Regions from separate parts of the Homo sapiens genome. Here region 1 is linked to region 2. Evidence: promoter capture Hi-C in 16 types of primary human blood cells and fetal thymus (Javierre and others, 2016). All regions are on one chromosome and are shown on one strand. The core of a region is centred on a gene start or on the middle of the fragment in contact, and the rest is flanking DNA. Distances in the headings are between cores, read along the strand shown. Region 1 overlaps KAT6A (lysine acetyltransferase 6A). Region 2 holds the start of POLB (DNA polymerase beta).

What was found. The method cuts DNA at HindIII sites, captures the fragments that hold promoters and counts their contacts. A CHiCAGO score of 5 or more calls a contact.
Region 1: a fragment that was not itself captured here is called in contact with the fragment with the promoter of POLB in region 2 in 5 of 17 cell types (activated CD4 T cells, naive CD4 T cells, total CD8 T cells and 2 more); the score reaches 7.6 in activated CD4 T cells.

Annotation. Positions count from the first base shown.
Region 1 is chr8:42,034,574-42,041,813 of GRCh38, forward strand. The region is part of intron 2 of KAT6A (lysine acetyltransferase 6A); the gene reads right to left. Among named protein-coding and RNA genes, the nearest start is that of KAT6A-AS1, 14 kb to the right of the region's middle. The HindIII fragment of the contact is 516 bases long and covers 2,600-3,115 here.
Region 2 is chr8:42,333,507-42,340,897 of GRCh38, forward strand. It overlaps POLB (DNA polymerase beta), which reads left to right and starts at 4,988. Exons shown (of 14, transcript NM_002690.3): 1 at 4,988-5,179; 2 at 5,506-5,563. The coding sequence starts at 5,119. The HindIII fragment of the contact is 11,887 bases long and covers 1-7,391 here.

The DNA of each region.
Region 1 (7,240 bases), core at 1,608-4,107, 300 kb before region 2:
GCTAAACACTATTTCTAAGGACTTTACATATTCTGTACTGTCCATTATAGCAGCTACTAGCCACATGTGGCTATTTCAATTAAATTATAACTAAATAAAATTTAAAATTCAGCTCCTCACTCAACTGGCCATATTGCAAGAGCTCAATAGCTACACATGGCTCTGGCTATCACAGAGGGCAGTACAGATATAGAACATTTCCATCATTGCACAAAGTTCTGTCAGCCCAGATGTATATTAACTCATTAAATTCTCACAACTTCACTATGAGATAAGCACTGTATTATCCCCATTTTATAGAAGAAAATGTGGCAAAGAATGGTTAAGCAAATTACCCAAGGTCATAAAGCAAGTAGTCCCAGTGTGGGATAGAAAGCCCAGATGGTCTGGTCTTTGCGCTTGTGTTCTTAATCATTTCTTAGTAAGATCATTTTGGCAATAATGTGGACTAGACGAAGATGATACTGGAGGAAGGAAAATCAATGAAGAAACTACTAAGGTAATCAGGAGAGAAATGATGAGGACCTGCTCTAACAGAGGACCTCGAATACAGAAGAGGTTAAATAAGAGATGTTAAAAAGTGTAAGAGAGAAGACATGGGATGGAATAGAACTGAATCCAAAAGACAGACAAGTGAGGTATGGAAGATGACACCAAAGTTTCCATTTTAAGCATCAGAATCGATGGCAATGGCTCTTACCACTGTAAGAAATGACAGCCGGTTAAAGGAAGTTGATAAATTCCATCTGAGCCATTGTGAATCTGAAGAGACTGACATAAAATACTACACAATGGAATATACAAGTCCAGAGATCAGAAGAGAGCTCTCAAATTAAGATATGAAATTAGAGTCATCAGTAAAGAACACAGAGGTCTAGAAATAACTCAGGAAAGTTATCTCTAGATAACTCTCTAGAAAACAGTAAGAAATGAGTGAAGAACAGAACCTTAGGGAATCCAACATCTAGATACAGGCAAAAGATAAAACGCCAATAAACTGAAAAGGAATTACCAGAAAGATGGGAGGAAGGGGGAGACATCTAAGAATTATCCCAGAGGAAAGGGAAGAATGGTCAACAAATGCTAAATGCAGCTGAGAACTCAGGTAAAATAAGACTGAAAACTGTCCACAAGAGCAGTTTCAAATAGTGCTGCTCTAGGGCCAAAAGCCAGATTGCAGCAGACGTGGAATGAATATAGACTTTTTTCAAGAAGTTTAAAAATGAATGGAAACAGACAGGGTATACATAGAAAGAAGGATCTGCAGTGGTTTTTTGGTTGTTTTTACTCTAACGGGAGAGTCTTCTGCCTGCTAAGGACTAAAAAGTGAGCGAGAAAGATGATAGAGTCAAAAAATGGGACTATTTTTGATGGCACACGGCCCCTGAGGTAGCAGAGAATGGGGTCCTGAAAAAGAATGGAGAGATGAGCCTTTCACACTTCTTTCACTGTCCTATGACAAGGTAGCAAAGCGGGCAGAAATAAGCACAGATGTATTTAGGATGGCATGAGAGGGGTATAAACTCAATGAGCTCAATTGGACAGATTCCATTATCTCTATGATGTAGCATATGGGAGTATCTACTGAAAATGAGAAAAAAAGGTGGGAAGAAATACTGAATTTCTGCAGACAGAACAGACTATACACAGACATACATCTTCAAGCAGAGGGCAGAGCTCAGATTGGAGGCCACAAATTTGTAAGTGGCATCCCACCACATGGTCATGAGATTTTCCCCAAAGTTAAAGCAGAGAGGTTGGGCACGATGGCTCATGCCTGTAATCCCAGCACTTTGGGAGGCCAAGGTGGGCAGATCACCTGAGGTCAGGAGTTCAAGACCAGCCTAGCCAACATGATGAAACCCCGTCTCCACTAAAAAAATACAAAAATTAGCCAGGGGTGGTAGCAGGCACCTGTAATCCCAGCTGCTTGGGAGGCTGAGGCAGAAGAATCGCTTGAACCCAGGAGATGGAGGTTGCAGTGAGCAGAGATCGCACCACTGCACTCCAGCCTGGGTGACAGAGCAAGACTCCAACTCAAAAAAAAAAGGAGAAGGTGGTAAATGGCTGGAGTTTGCCAACATGATGCAGGAGTAGTGAGTGAGTGAGAATGTGCCATAAGGCCAAGCAATGAGAACAGCATTAGAGTGATGGCAGGGCACCTGTCGGAATCATGCAGGTAACTTTCTCGCAACTATATACCACACAAGATCTTCTTGAGATAAAGCAGTGAGGGTAAGGAGAAAGAAAGGTGGAAGATTAGAGTAGTTATAGCCAGGGAGGACAATAAAACAGAATGTACATTTCCAGAAGTACACTGTCCTGGGTCCAAAGTGTGTTCATGAGGGTGTGTGTGAAGCATGCTATTTCATCATTTGTTTGAATGTCAATTATGAGGTTAAAAAGTACCTGCTTCTTCTGTCTTCTGACTCTCTTAGCCAGTCCCCACTACAGAGATGTTGGTTCTAAGCATTAGAGCAATGGTTCTCAACCCCAGCTGCACATCAGATAAACATTCTTAAAAAAATAAAAAATAAAAAAAACTGAAACCTGGGCCTCACTACTAGTCAAATTTAATTAGTTTGGTATTTATTTTTTAAGCTTCCTCAGGTAATGCTAAAGTGAATTTAGTGCCAAGTACCACTGCTTTCCAAAGAATAAGGCTTTGGATTTATGTTACAGAATTAAAGAAAAACTGAGTGGCATGGAAAAAAGTAAGGCAGGAAAATGGTGAAAGAGGGTTTAAATAGTAAGTTAGATATTTAAAGATGCCCTGAATAGAAAAATTGGGAAACTATTAAAGTACAGAATCACACTCCACACACAAAAATAGTAATAATGTTTCTGAGAGTTCTGTTAAAGGTTCTAGAAAACTCAGGAGTTAAATGCTTCACTGTACCCAATGACTAAGAAAAAAGGAACCTAGACTTTACTAAGCTCAAAGAATTAAAAACCAACACTTAGCAGCTCTTCAGGTCAACTACAGTTCACAATTCCCTGGAGGAAAACGCAGCCCATAGTACAAGTCTGACAACACCTCTAGATCTGCGGAATCACCTATTCTACATAAAAGGTAAACGGCAAAAGAAGCAACTATCTTCTTTAACACATTGAAAGCTTTTTTTTTTTTTTTGGCTGCCAGATTTTATTTCCACACCAGTTATCTTCTTCTTAACAAGTTACACCTATAATCTTAAAATCGCCCAGTTATTTTACAAACATCTGTCCTCAATCTTAATCTTTATTTGCCACTATCCTAATGTACTTGCTAAGTTTTACAGCAAAGCAGAAGTGATGCAGAGATGAAGTGTTAGTCATAAAGACCAATAAAGACAAAAAATGATGTGCTGTCTGCGGTCTTCCCCACACGGTCTGTTTACAAGTAACATTACAAATCTCTCAAGCTCCTCCCAGACACTATGTTTATAGAAGTGCTAGACTATACACTTTTGGTCCACCCATATTTAATGTCTTTGGTAAAAATTACTTCATTAATTAATAGAAAGGTTTGTACCTTGCTATCTCTAGCTCAGTCTCAAGAATTTTAAATTCTAACCAATGATCCAAGTCACTCAGAGGTCATTTGTGTTGCAGACCTACTGAAAATTAGACTTACCTTTAAATGGACTTTTTTTCCCAAAACTCAAGGAGTACTTTTTCTTCCAGCATTAAGGTAGCTCAACATGTTCCCCTTCTAATATTTAGCCAACAACATAAGAAAACCTTGATTCCTCTAACTTGGGCCATAAGAAAGCAGTCTTTTCCCAAAAAGTTGTTTCAAAACTCTAACAAGAGTGTATAGCTATTTTCACACACTGAAATAGCAGATTTATATATTTGTGGTTTACGATACCACCAATATTCTCTAGACAAGGTTTATTCTATGGTTTCCATTAAGGAAGAGAATTCTAACTAAATTATTTTAGGCTCACTGCTCTCTAATACTATAAAGCAGTACTACAGCATAATGAAAAAAGCACAAAATTGAGAAGGGCCTGACCAATTCTTCCAGATGGTATTAACTGGCTGTGTGGCACTGGACAAGACACTTCAACCTCTTTGGCTCTCAAATTTCCCTATTATTTGTGAAATCAGATTAGAATCACTGTGATCCAAGATTGCTACTGGCTGAACATTCTACACAATGCAGAAGATACAAGTCTTTTTTTCTAATAATCTATGTTTCGTAAGCATAATACAATTCAACCATAAAAGATACCTCAATCAACACTACAGCCAGACTTACTTTTCCTTAGCAGTCTTTTTTTTTCTTTAAATTGCTGACAGTTAAAAACTATTTTGACCCAGAATGGCATACTACTATAATCTCTATGCTTAATTTCAACTCCTAATAAAATAGTGCCACACTACAAATGGTTTCTTCACCTGTTCCCTAATGAAGTTGAAAATAATTCCTTGGCCTTGAATTTACAGATACATGTACAGGGCTGATGAAAGCCATCTGCTGGGAACTATGACTTTCATATGAAAGGAAAAAACCAGAAGGAACTGCTTTCATTTTCCTGGGAACCAGCTGCAGCTGAATGAGTCCTAATCCTGCTCCAGCTGGGACAAGCAGAAGGGTGAAGTTACTCCTGGTCTAATTCATTCGCTGCAGATCCTTTGTGAAATGACTCCACCCCTGAGTAGCCAAGTGGTAAATAACTTTATCAGAGTGAAGCTCTTAATAATTCCTATACATAAATCAGAGCATGAAAAGTATTCATTATTATAATTTTAAGAAACACTCTCCAGGTCACCAGAAAAAAATAAATTTTTAATTCTATTTAAACCAGCAAACTCCGCACCTAGATTTAGTCCTCTTACATAGCTAAGAACCAAGTCAGTATGACAAAGATATTTTCTCCAAAACTTTAAATGCAAAGAGAAAATAAATCTAATAGATGTTAAGGAGATTCTTACAGCTTCAGGAAGACTGAATGATATAAATTTTCTTTCCAGATTCATCACAGTTCCTGTTATGTATTTGCTCTCCTAGTATTAAACATAACAAAAAAGTATTGGCCCACAAGTCCAGGATGAACTAAAGAAAAAACAGGCAGCAAGGGTAAAAAGAAATTTAATGTATTTTGCATTTCCTTATATTCATTTTCCATTTGGTTTTCTATAAGACATAATGAAAACTTGTATTATTATTATTAATTTTTGTTTTTTTTTGAGACGGAGTCTCACTCTGTCACCCAGGCTGGAGTGCAGTAGCGCAATCTCGGCTCACTGCAAGCTCCACCTCCCGGGTTCACGCCATTCTCCTGCCTTAGCCTCCCAAGTAGCTGGGACTACAGGCGCCCACCACAATGCCTGGCTAATATTTTTTTTTTTTCTTTTGTATTTTTTAGTGGAGACGGGCTTTCACCACGTTAGCCAGGATGGTCTCGATCTCCTGACCTCGAGATCCGCCTGCCTCGGCTTCCCAAAGTGCTGGGATTATAGGCGTGAGCCACCGCGCCCTGCCGAAAATTTGTATGATTAAATACTATTAAATACCTATTATATAAATATATTATGCCTATAAAATTTAATCATATAGAATTCTTTTGAGACTTCAATAAGAAAGTACATGTTAAAACACTTAAAAAAAAAAGTCCCTAACACATCATCAGCCCTTAACAAATGTTAGCTATTAATAGGTTTCTATAAGCAACTCTTTACGTTCCCTTAGCCTATTGATACAGAGCAAAGAAAAAACGAGGTTAAGACCATTAGAACCTCTGGATTTCTATTCCTGAAGCCATTTGTGGTACCCGATGTCTTCATTAATTCCTTCCCTTTATTTCACCAATTGGAAGGTAGACCAAGAAAGAGTAAAGTACTTATTCGCTAGAAAAATGTCTAGGTTGTAAGCATAAGAAAAATTGGTGGCTGGGCATGGTGGCTCACACCTGTAATCCCAGCACTTTGGGAGGCCAAGGCGGGTGGATCACCTGAGGTCAGGAGTTCGAGACCAGCCTGGCCAACGTGGCAAAACCCTGTCTCTACTAAAAATACAAAAAATTAGCCAGGCGTGGTGGCGGGTGCATGTAAACCCAGCTACTCGGGAGGCTGAGGCAGGAGAATCGCCTGAACCCAGGAGGCGGAGGCTGCAGTGAGCCGAGATCGCACCATTGCACTCCAGCCTAAGTGACAAGAGCAAGACTCTGTCTCAAAAAAAAAAAAAAAAAAAAAAAAAGAAAGAAAGAAAGAAAAGAAAAATTGGTTTGGTATAGAACTTTGGATTAGTAATGGCTAACCCAAGCTTTAGTAGCTCAGTAGCTTTATTTCGAGGTATGTCATGCACTGAAAATTACCAAAAATCATTGTGCTCATAGGTGAACCAGAAGATCAAAAAAATCTGCACAGTTGGCCAGGTACAGTGGCTCACACCTATAATCCCAGCACTTTGGGAAGCCAATCAGGAGTTTGAGATTCGTCTGGCCAACACAGTGAAGCCCCATCTTTACTAAAAATACAAAAATTAGCCAGGCATGGTGGCGCATGCCTGTAATCCCAGCTATTTGGGAGACTGAGGCAGGAGAATCACTTGAACCTGGGAGGCAGAGGTTGCAGTGAGCCAAGGTTGCGCCACTGCACTCCAGTCTGGGCAAGAGTGAGATTCCGTCTCAAAAAAAAAAAAAAAAAAAAACTGTGCAGCTGATTGTACTTAAACAGATACTATTTTACAAACATATCTCTGAGTTATTTTTAAATTTCTGAATTTTTGAAGAATAAATCTGCTAAGACAAAATTAATTCCTAACCAGATTTACAATTAATCCACCTCAATGACTTGTTAGTAACAAATTTTTATTTCTAGGCCACTGCTCCTGGTACATTTGGAGTCACAAACAAATGGTATAAACAATGATGTCAGAAATGTACGGCATGGGCCGGGCATGGTGGCTGACGCCTGTAATCCTAGCACTTTGGGAGGCGGAGGTGGGCGGATCACCTGAGGTCAGGAGTTCGAGAACACAACTGGCCAACATGGTGAAACCCCATTTCTATTAAAAATACAAAAATTAGGTAGGTATGGTGGCACACGCCTGTAATCGCAGACAGCAGGAGGGGAGAGGCAGTAGAATTGCTTCAACCTGGAAGGCGGAGGTTGCAGTGAGCTGAAACTGGGCCACCGCACTCCAGCCTAAGCAACAGAGCAAGACTCCATCTCAAAAAAAAAAAAGAAAAGAAATGCATGTCATAAAAAATGTTTAAATTATTAAATATAACAATTACTGAGATCAATC
Region 2 (7,391 bases), core at 3,738-6,237:
GCCAACCAATGGGCACAGACAAGAAAGCCTGCTCTCTCTACCTGCGTTAGTTTCCTAGACCTGCCCTAGCTAGTTACCACAACTTTGGTGGCTTAAATGACAGAAACTTATTCTCTCCCAGTTCCGGAGGCCAGAAGTCTGAAATAAAGGTGTGAACAGGATCACACCTCTTCTGAAGGCTCTAGGGAGGTTCTATCCCTGGTGGCGTCCAGCTTCTGTTGGCTTTAGGCAATCCTTGGCTTGTGACTGCATCTCTGCCCCTGGGTCATATTGCTGCCGCTTTCTCTGTCACATCTCTGCTGTGTATCTCTTACAAGAATACTTGCCATTGGATTTAGAGCCAATTTGAAAAATCCAGGGTAAGCACTTTGTCTCAAGATGTTTCATGTAATCACAGTTTGCCATATGAGGTAATGTTCACAGGCTCTGGAGATTATGATGTGGACATCTTCTTGGGGGCCACCATTCAGCCCACTACAGTCCACCCTCTGGCACCCCAAAATCCATATTTGTCCTACATGAAAAAGACATTTATTCCTCCCAACATCTCCCAAAGTCTCAACTCATACAGCATGAACTAAGACCAAATTTGCATCTATATATTAGCTCAGAAGTCCTGCATCTCATCATCTAAGTCAGATGTGGGTGAGACCCCGTGCATGATTCATTTTAGGATTAAATTTCTCTGGCTGTGGACCTGTGATACTACAGGTTATCAGCTTCCAAATAACTTTGGAATTTGGATAAATAAATTTATTTAAAATGATGTAATAGGCATATGATAGATGTTCTCATTCTGAAAGGGAAAATTGGAAGGGATAAAGAAGTCACCATTCCCAACCAATTTTGATCTAGCAGAGAAAATTCCATTAGGATTCAAGGCCTGCAAATAATTCCCTAGCTTGAAGTGCCGCCCACTGGGCCCACAACAGTTGTGCAGACCTTTGTGTCTGCTCACAGCAGAACCATGGGCCTCTCTGTACCCATGGTGGCTCCATAGGCCTCTGAGTCTGTGCTCACAGTGACCTCATAGGCCTGTGTCTCTGCATCCATCACTTCTGTCTGCTCCTCTGGCCTCTGCCTCTGTGCCCCTGGCTCTGCCCTTGGAGTCATTCTTGCTTTTTCTTGAAGGATCGCATGTTTGCAGCCCAGTAGCTCTATCAGCCCATTTCTTGCCCGTAGCAGTTTGGATTTCAACAGCCTTTTCTCATTTCACACTGTCTCTGTCACTTCCAGGCTAAGCTGTCTCTGCTGATGTAACATTCTCAAAAATCTTGTGGGTCCCCTGTGTAATGTCATGGAGTTCAATGCCATTAGACAAGAGGGTCCTCCACAAATTTTCTGGGATAATCCCATCTCTATTCCTGACTTCTACTGAGATGGTTGAATGAGTCCAAGAGTCCCATGCTTCATCTCTTCGTGCCACCACACCCAGTACATTTTTCTTATTTTTGTAAAAGAGATGGGGTCTCGCCATGTTGCCCAGTCTGGTCTTGAACTCCTGGGCTCGATCCTCCTGCCTCCACCTCCCAGAGTGCTGGGATTACAGGTGGCCGTGTTTGACACTTCAGCAAAACTGCAATTTAAGTTATTAACTTTATTGAGTACTTACGTGGAAACAAAAATTAAGTCCCTTCTCCCGTGGAGCTGGCATTGCACATTGGTGGGAGGAGGAGTGAGCAGGGAGTGCATAATGTGCAACCACGTGTGAATATTTCCAGTCCTTCTTAGTACTGTGAAGGAAACACACAAGTAAAAACCTGGGCCTGGTCCAGGAACGTGACAAGGGTGTGACTGCCAGGCTGGGACCTGAATGATGAGAAGAAGGCAGCCAGGGAAAGAACCATACAATGAGGGGACAATGCTGAGCAGGCACATGTATGTATGAAATATGGGCGTGTGTGTGTCCTAAACAATGAGAAAAGTGGCAAGAAATGCAGTAGGAGAGCAGGCAGGAGGTGGATCACATAAGGCCTTGTGGGCCATGAAAAGGAGCTTGGATTTTTTTTTTTTTTTTTTTTTTTTTTTGGAGACTCACTCTTGTTGCCCAGGCTGGAGTGCAGTGGCCCGATCTTGGCTCACTGCAACCTCCACCTCCAGGGTTCAACCTCCCTGCCTCAACTTCCCAAGTAGCTGGGATTACAGGCGCCCACCACCACGCCTGGCTAATTTTTGTATTTTTAGTAGAAATGGGGTTTCACCATGTTGGCCAGGCTGACCTTGAACTCCTGACCTCAGGTGATCCGCCTGCCTCAGCCTCCCAAAGTGCTGGAATTACAGGTGTGAGCCACTGCGCCCCGCCAGGAGCTTGGATTTTATCCTAAGTGCAGTGGGAGGGTGTATAAATAGGGACATATTTTGATACTACATCCTAAAAAGATCACCCTCTGTTTGGGGAATATTCTATAAGAGGACAAGAGCAGAAGCAGGAAGCCCACTGAGGAGGCTTTGGTAACAGTTCAGGAGGTCATGGGAGTTTGATCTAGGGCAGTGGCAGCTCGGGATGAGAGGTCATCCAGTTCAGCACATATTCCTGAGACAGAACAGACAAGGTCTGCTGGCAGACGGGATGTGGGGTGTGAAAAGAGCAATTAAAAATGACTCTTATGGGTTTGGCCTGATAGCAGGGTGGATTAAAATGCTATTAACTGAGATGGGGGAAAGTTAAGGAGAAGCTGGTGGGGCAAGAGTCAGGAGTTCTTTAGGACATTTTATCTTTGAGATGCCTATTATGGACTAGAGCTATCCAGTAGACAGCCTGATGTATGAGACTGGAACTCAAGGGAGAGGTCAAGACTTGAACTATGAGTTTAGGAGACTTTCAAGCTAGACATGCCATTTAAACAGGTAAAACTGGACAAGTTGGAAAAGCTGGTTAGAAGACTGAAGTGTGAAGCCATTTCCCATAAAGGCTGGAGAGTGGAGGAGGAGCTGGGAACCAGTGCTCAGGCGCACATGTGCGCACACACACACCCTGCTGAGGACTGGCCAGTGAGGAAAAAGGAAGCCCAGAGCATGTGGAATCTTAGAAGCCAATTGAAGCAAGTTATTTCAAGAAGAACTTTGTGAAGCAGATCAAATGTCGGTTGTTCTAAGACGATAAGGACAGATAATGGATTATTTTCCTTGGTTTCTCTGGCACTAATTTTAAAAATATAGTATTTGTAAAAATGGGCTAGGTGCAGTGGCTCACGCCTGTAATCTAGCACTTTAATAGGCCAAGGCGGGTGGATCACTTGAGGTCAGGGGTTTGAGACCAGCCTGGCCAACATGGTGAAACCCCATCTCTACTAAAAATACAAAAATTAGCTGGGCATGGTGGCAGGATCCTGTAATCCCAGCTACTCGGGAGGCTGAGGCAGGAGAATCACTTGAACCCGGGAGGCAGAGGTTGCAGTGAGCCGAGATCGTGCCATTGCACTCTGGCCTGCGGGACAAGAGTGAAACTCTGTCTCAAAACAAAAAAATTTGTAAAACTGATCCCACAATTCCCTACATTTGTAACTTTTAAAATTCAGAGGTAAATACATTTTTATTTAAGGAGGAATAATTCTTCAGAGCAAAATAATCTGAATATCACCTGGAATAGAGATTGGACAGAAAAAAGTGTGAACAGGGAAAACTAGGACAAGTCATATATGTAAATGAGAGTATAAAGAGTAAATGAGAGTGGTCACTGCTCACTGCAGCTTAACTAATCAGATAGTTAAGTTGCAGGCATAAAGTTTTTTTAACTTTTATTCCTCAAGTAATAAATTGAGGAAAATACAAATATGTACAAAATTTTTACAAAAGCTATCCATAAAAGGGCAAGTAGTAATATATAGAAAAGATCTACCAGATTAGTAACAAACTACCCCCATTAGGAAAATGGTAAATGATATGAATAGGAAATTCAAAAAAAGAAGAATTACAGATTTCCAATAAGCATAACTTAAGATATACACTGATATTGTAAGGAAACACAATCACCACAACCTTGCTAATCAAAGAAACTAATGATATTTATTGGAAAATAATGGGAATTTTTAATAGACTGGGTTAGAAGACTAGAAGTGTACGTCCCAAAATATTAATAGTTCAGCTGTAGGGTGAGATCACTGATTTTAATTTTCTCCTTTTATACATTTTTCCAGATTTCTCTACAGCAACTACGTATCATTTTGTAATAAATTTTAATTTTTCGATGCACAAAGCAATTGCCTGGAATTGCAGTTCGATATGAACCCAGGAGTTACGCTTGTAAAATAAACTATTGCTGATGTGACATTTCCATTTCTCAAGCAGACTGTAAATTTCTCAGATGTAGGTCATCATGTTATAATTAGGGTTCCATTGCTCATGATCTAGATGAAACACTTCTCCCTTTCTTGTGGTCTCTTCATTAATTTGGTCCCTACCGCAAAGGCAGGGGGATTAAAAATAAAATATCTTTTGACACTGGTTGGCAGGTGTACTAACACGTGTGCGGGAGGATTCCTGTTCTCGGCATGGTTCACGCCGGGCTCCGGCAGCGCCCTAGTACGTAAGGGGCTGCACTGGAGTGTGGACTGCCCGGTATCCTTAGAGAAAGTTTTGACAGTGTGACGCCAGTGTCGCCTCTAACCACGTACAAAACGCGCCATGCATTGGGTAGCTATTACAGTGCACATTTTTGTGCAGGAAGCTACCCCACCAGCGCAAGTATTTCAGAATCAAGATCGCACTCCCGTTTCCCCTTCTAGGGAAAGGATTCCAGATAAACACTGAGAAAACAGATTTAATATCTTAGGTCAAAACTCCAGGTCTTCCCATAGGAAGGCCCCTGGGCTGTCATTCTGAGGTGCCTATTTCCCCCGCGCCGTGTCCACGTCCACGAGTCCACGAACCCTCCGAGTTCTCTCTCCTCACCTGCCGAGGGCTCGCCCCTCTAGCCCCGCCCCGCCCCGCCCAGGACGCGTGACGTCACAACAAGCGCCGTGCGCCCCGCCCCCCATCGGGGGCAACCATTGTTCCGCCGGTCGCGCCGGAGCTGGGTTGCTCCTGCTCCCGTCTCCAAGTCCTGGTACCTCCTTCAAGCTGGGAGAGGGCTCTAGTCCCTGGTTCTGAACACTCTGGGGTTCTCGGGTGCAGGCCGCCATGAGCAAACGGAAGGCGCCGCAGGAGACTCTCAACGGGGGAATCACCGACATGCTCACAGGTTAGCACCGGGCCGGGCCCCGCTGGCTTTCTTCTTTCCTTCCAGCCTCTTCCCCTGCCTTCCTTCTCTCCCACACCGACAGTCCAGTGGGTAGGGTAGGTTCCTTGCAGCGGGTCGTCTTCCGTGGGGATCTCCCTCCGGCGCCCCTGGCTGGTTGTCAGTCCTGCCGGCTACACCTGGGCCATCGCTTGGGCTGCTTTTGGTCTGGCCCTTGGAGGAAACGGGTGGTCACTGTCTCTTAGAGGCTGCCATATCCCCTTCCAGAAAACAGTTCTCGTTTGTTTACTCGTGGTTCTTGTTCACCCGAGCCTTCTGTTGCCTTTCAGAACTCGCAAACTTTGAGAAGAACGTGAGCCAAGCTATCCACAAGTACAATGCTTACAGGTGGGACAGTGCAGCATTCTCGGGTAGCATACGTTCTGGGATACCCTGTTTAGTGTGGCAATTAACAGGACTGAGGGCCCAGTGGATATTTGGTCCATCTGCAAGAGCGGGAAAAAGCAAGAATCGAGGCTGGTACCTTACTATTTCTTGAAGAATGTGGGCAGTGCGTTATAGGATCAGTTCAGATAAGTTCCCAATTCTGATTGCAGATAGCTGTAGCCTGATACGTATTTTGTCATCATCAAACATGAATTACTAGAAATGCGGTGTAATTTTAACCGTAATGAAAGACAGCGGATGAAGTCCATACTGTGAAATATATGTGGTTCAAGGAATCACATTTTTTCTTTTGGTTGGTCTAAAGTTGATCCTGTGGGATCCTGATCCTGATCCTTGTTCCTTGTTCATGGGATCCTGTCCTTGTTCATCTCACCAGGGGCCTTATCCTATTCATTCTTTCCACATCCACCTGCTTCTACTCCTTAGCCTATATTTATTTATTTATTTATTTTTATTTGAGACGGGGTCTCGCTGTGGTATGATCATGGCTCATTGCAGCTTCAACCTTCCAGCCTCAAGTGATCTTCCCATCTCAGCCTCCTGAGTGGCTGGGACTACTACAGGCGCACGCCACCACACCCAGCTAATTTTTTTTTCTTTCTTTTTTTTTCTTTTTTTTTTTGTAGAGACCGGGTTTTGCTATGTTGCCCAGGCTGATCTCCAACTCCTAAACTCAAATGGTCCACACACCTTGGTCTCCCAGAGTGCTGGGATTCCAGGCATCAGCCTCGGTGTCAGCTCTCCTTAGCCTATAAATATGTGCAAGTCCCTCAGCTCTTAAAAGCAAAACCAAAACAATCTTAACTTCCCTCTAGCTAGCACCTTCCCTCTTTTCTCACTTTATGGTGAATCTTCTTGAAAAATCTTCATTCCTTGCCTGGACTTCTTAATACCTAATCATTTACTCAAGAAGTCCCAGTCCTTGCCTGGACCTACCAGTGCTCTGAAAATCCGCTCACCTACGTCTCATCTTATTGGACTCTCTGTGGCATTCACCCCTGGCTCATGCTGTGAATATCTCTTGACTTCTGTAATGGCACTCTTTCTGGTCTTTCATCTCTTCTTCTGTCTTACCTTTTAATGTTGGTATAGGTTGAGCATCCCTAATCTGAAAATTTGAAATGCTCTAAAATCTGGATGATTGCCGACATGATGACACAAGTGGAAAATTCCACATCCGATCTCATGTAGTAGGTGGCAGTCAAAATGGTCAAAACTTTGTTTCATGCACAAAATTATTAAAACGACTATATAAGATTACCTTCAGGGTATGTGCGTAAGGTGTGTGAGAAATATGACTGAATTTTGTATTTAGACTTGTATCTCCCATATCCCTAAGATATCTTATTATGTATACGCAAATATTCCAAACCCTGAAAAAAATTCAAAATCTGAAACAATGCTGGTCCCAGGCATTTCAGATAAGGGATAGTTAACCTGTGGTTCCGGGGAGTCTGCCTGCCCTTAGCCCTCTTTTCTTACTTCTGTAGTTTCCCTGGCAATCTTGCCATTCTTGACTTTGAAATGCCACTTATGTCAGTGACTCCAAATCTGTGTATCACTGGACTTTTTTCCACATTTTTAGCCCTATACTGTCTTTATCCCAAGTCAGCTCCCTTCTTCCATTCCCACTCCACACAGTTCAGAGCTGATTGTGCTCCCTCCTTTCCTTACTTCTGTGACTTCCTCTGTAAAGTAAAATAATTGTATTATCATCCATACATTTGATGATTCAAAATTACAGAGATATTCAACTTTGTATTCTATT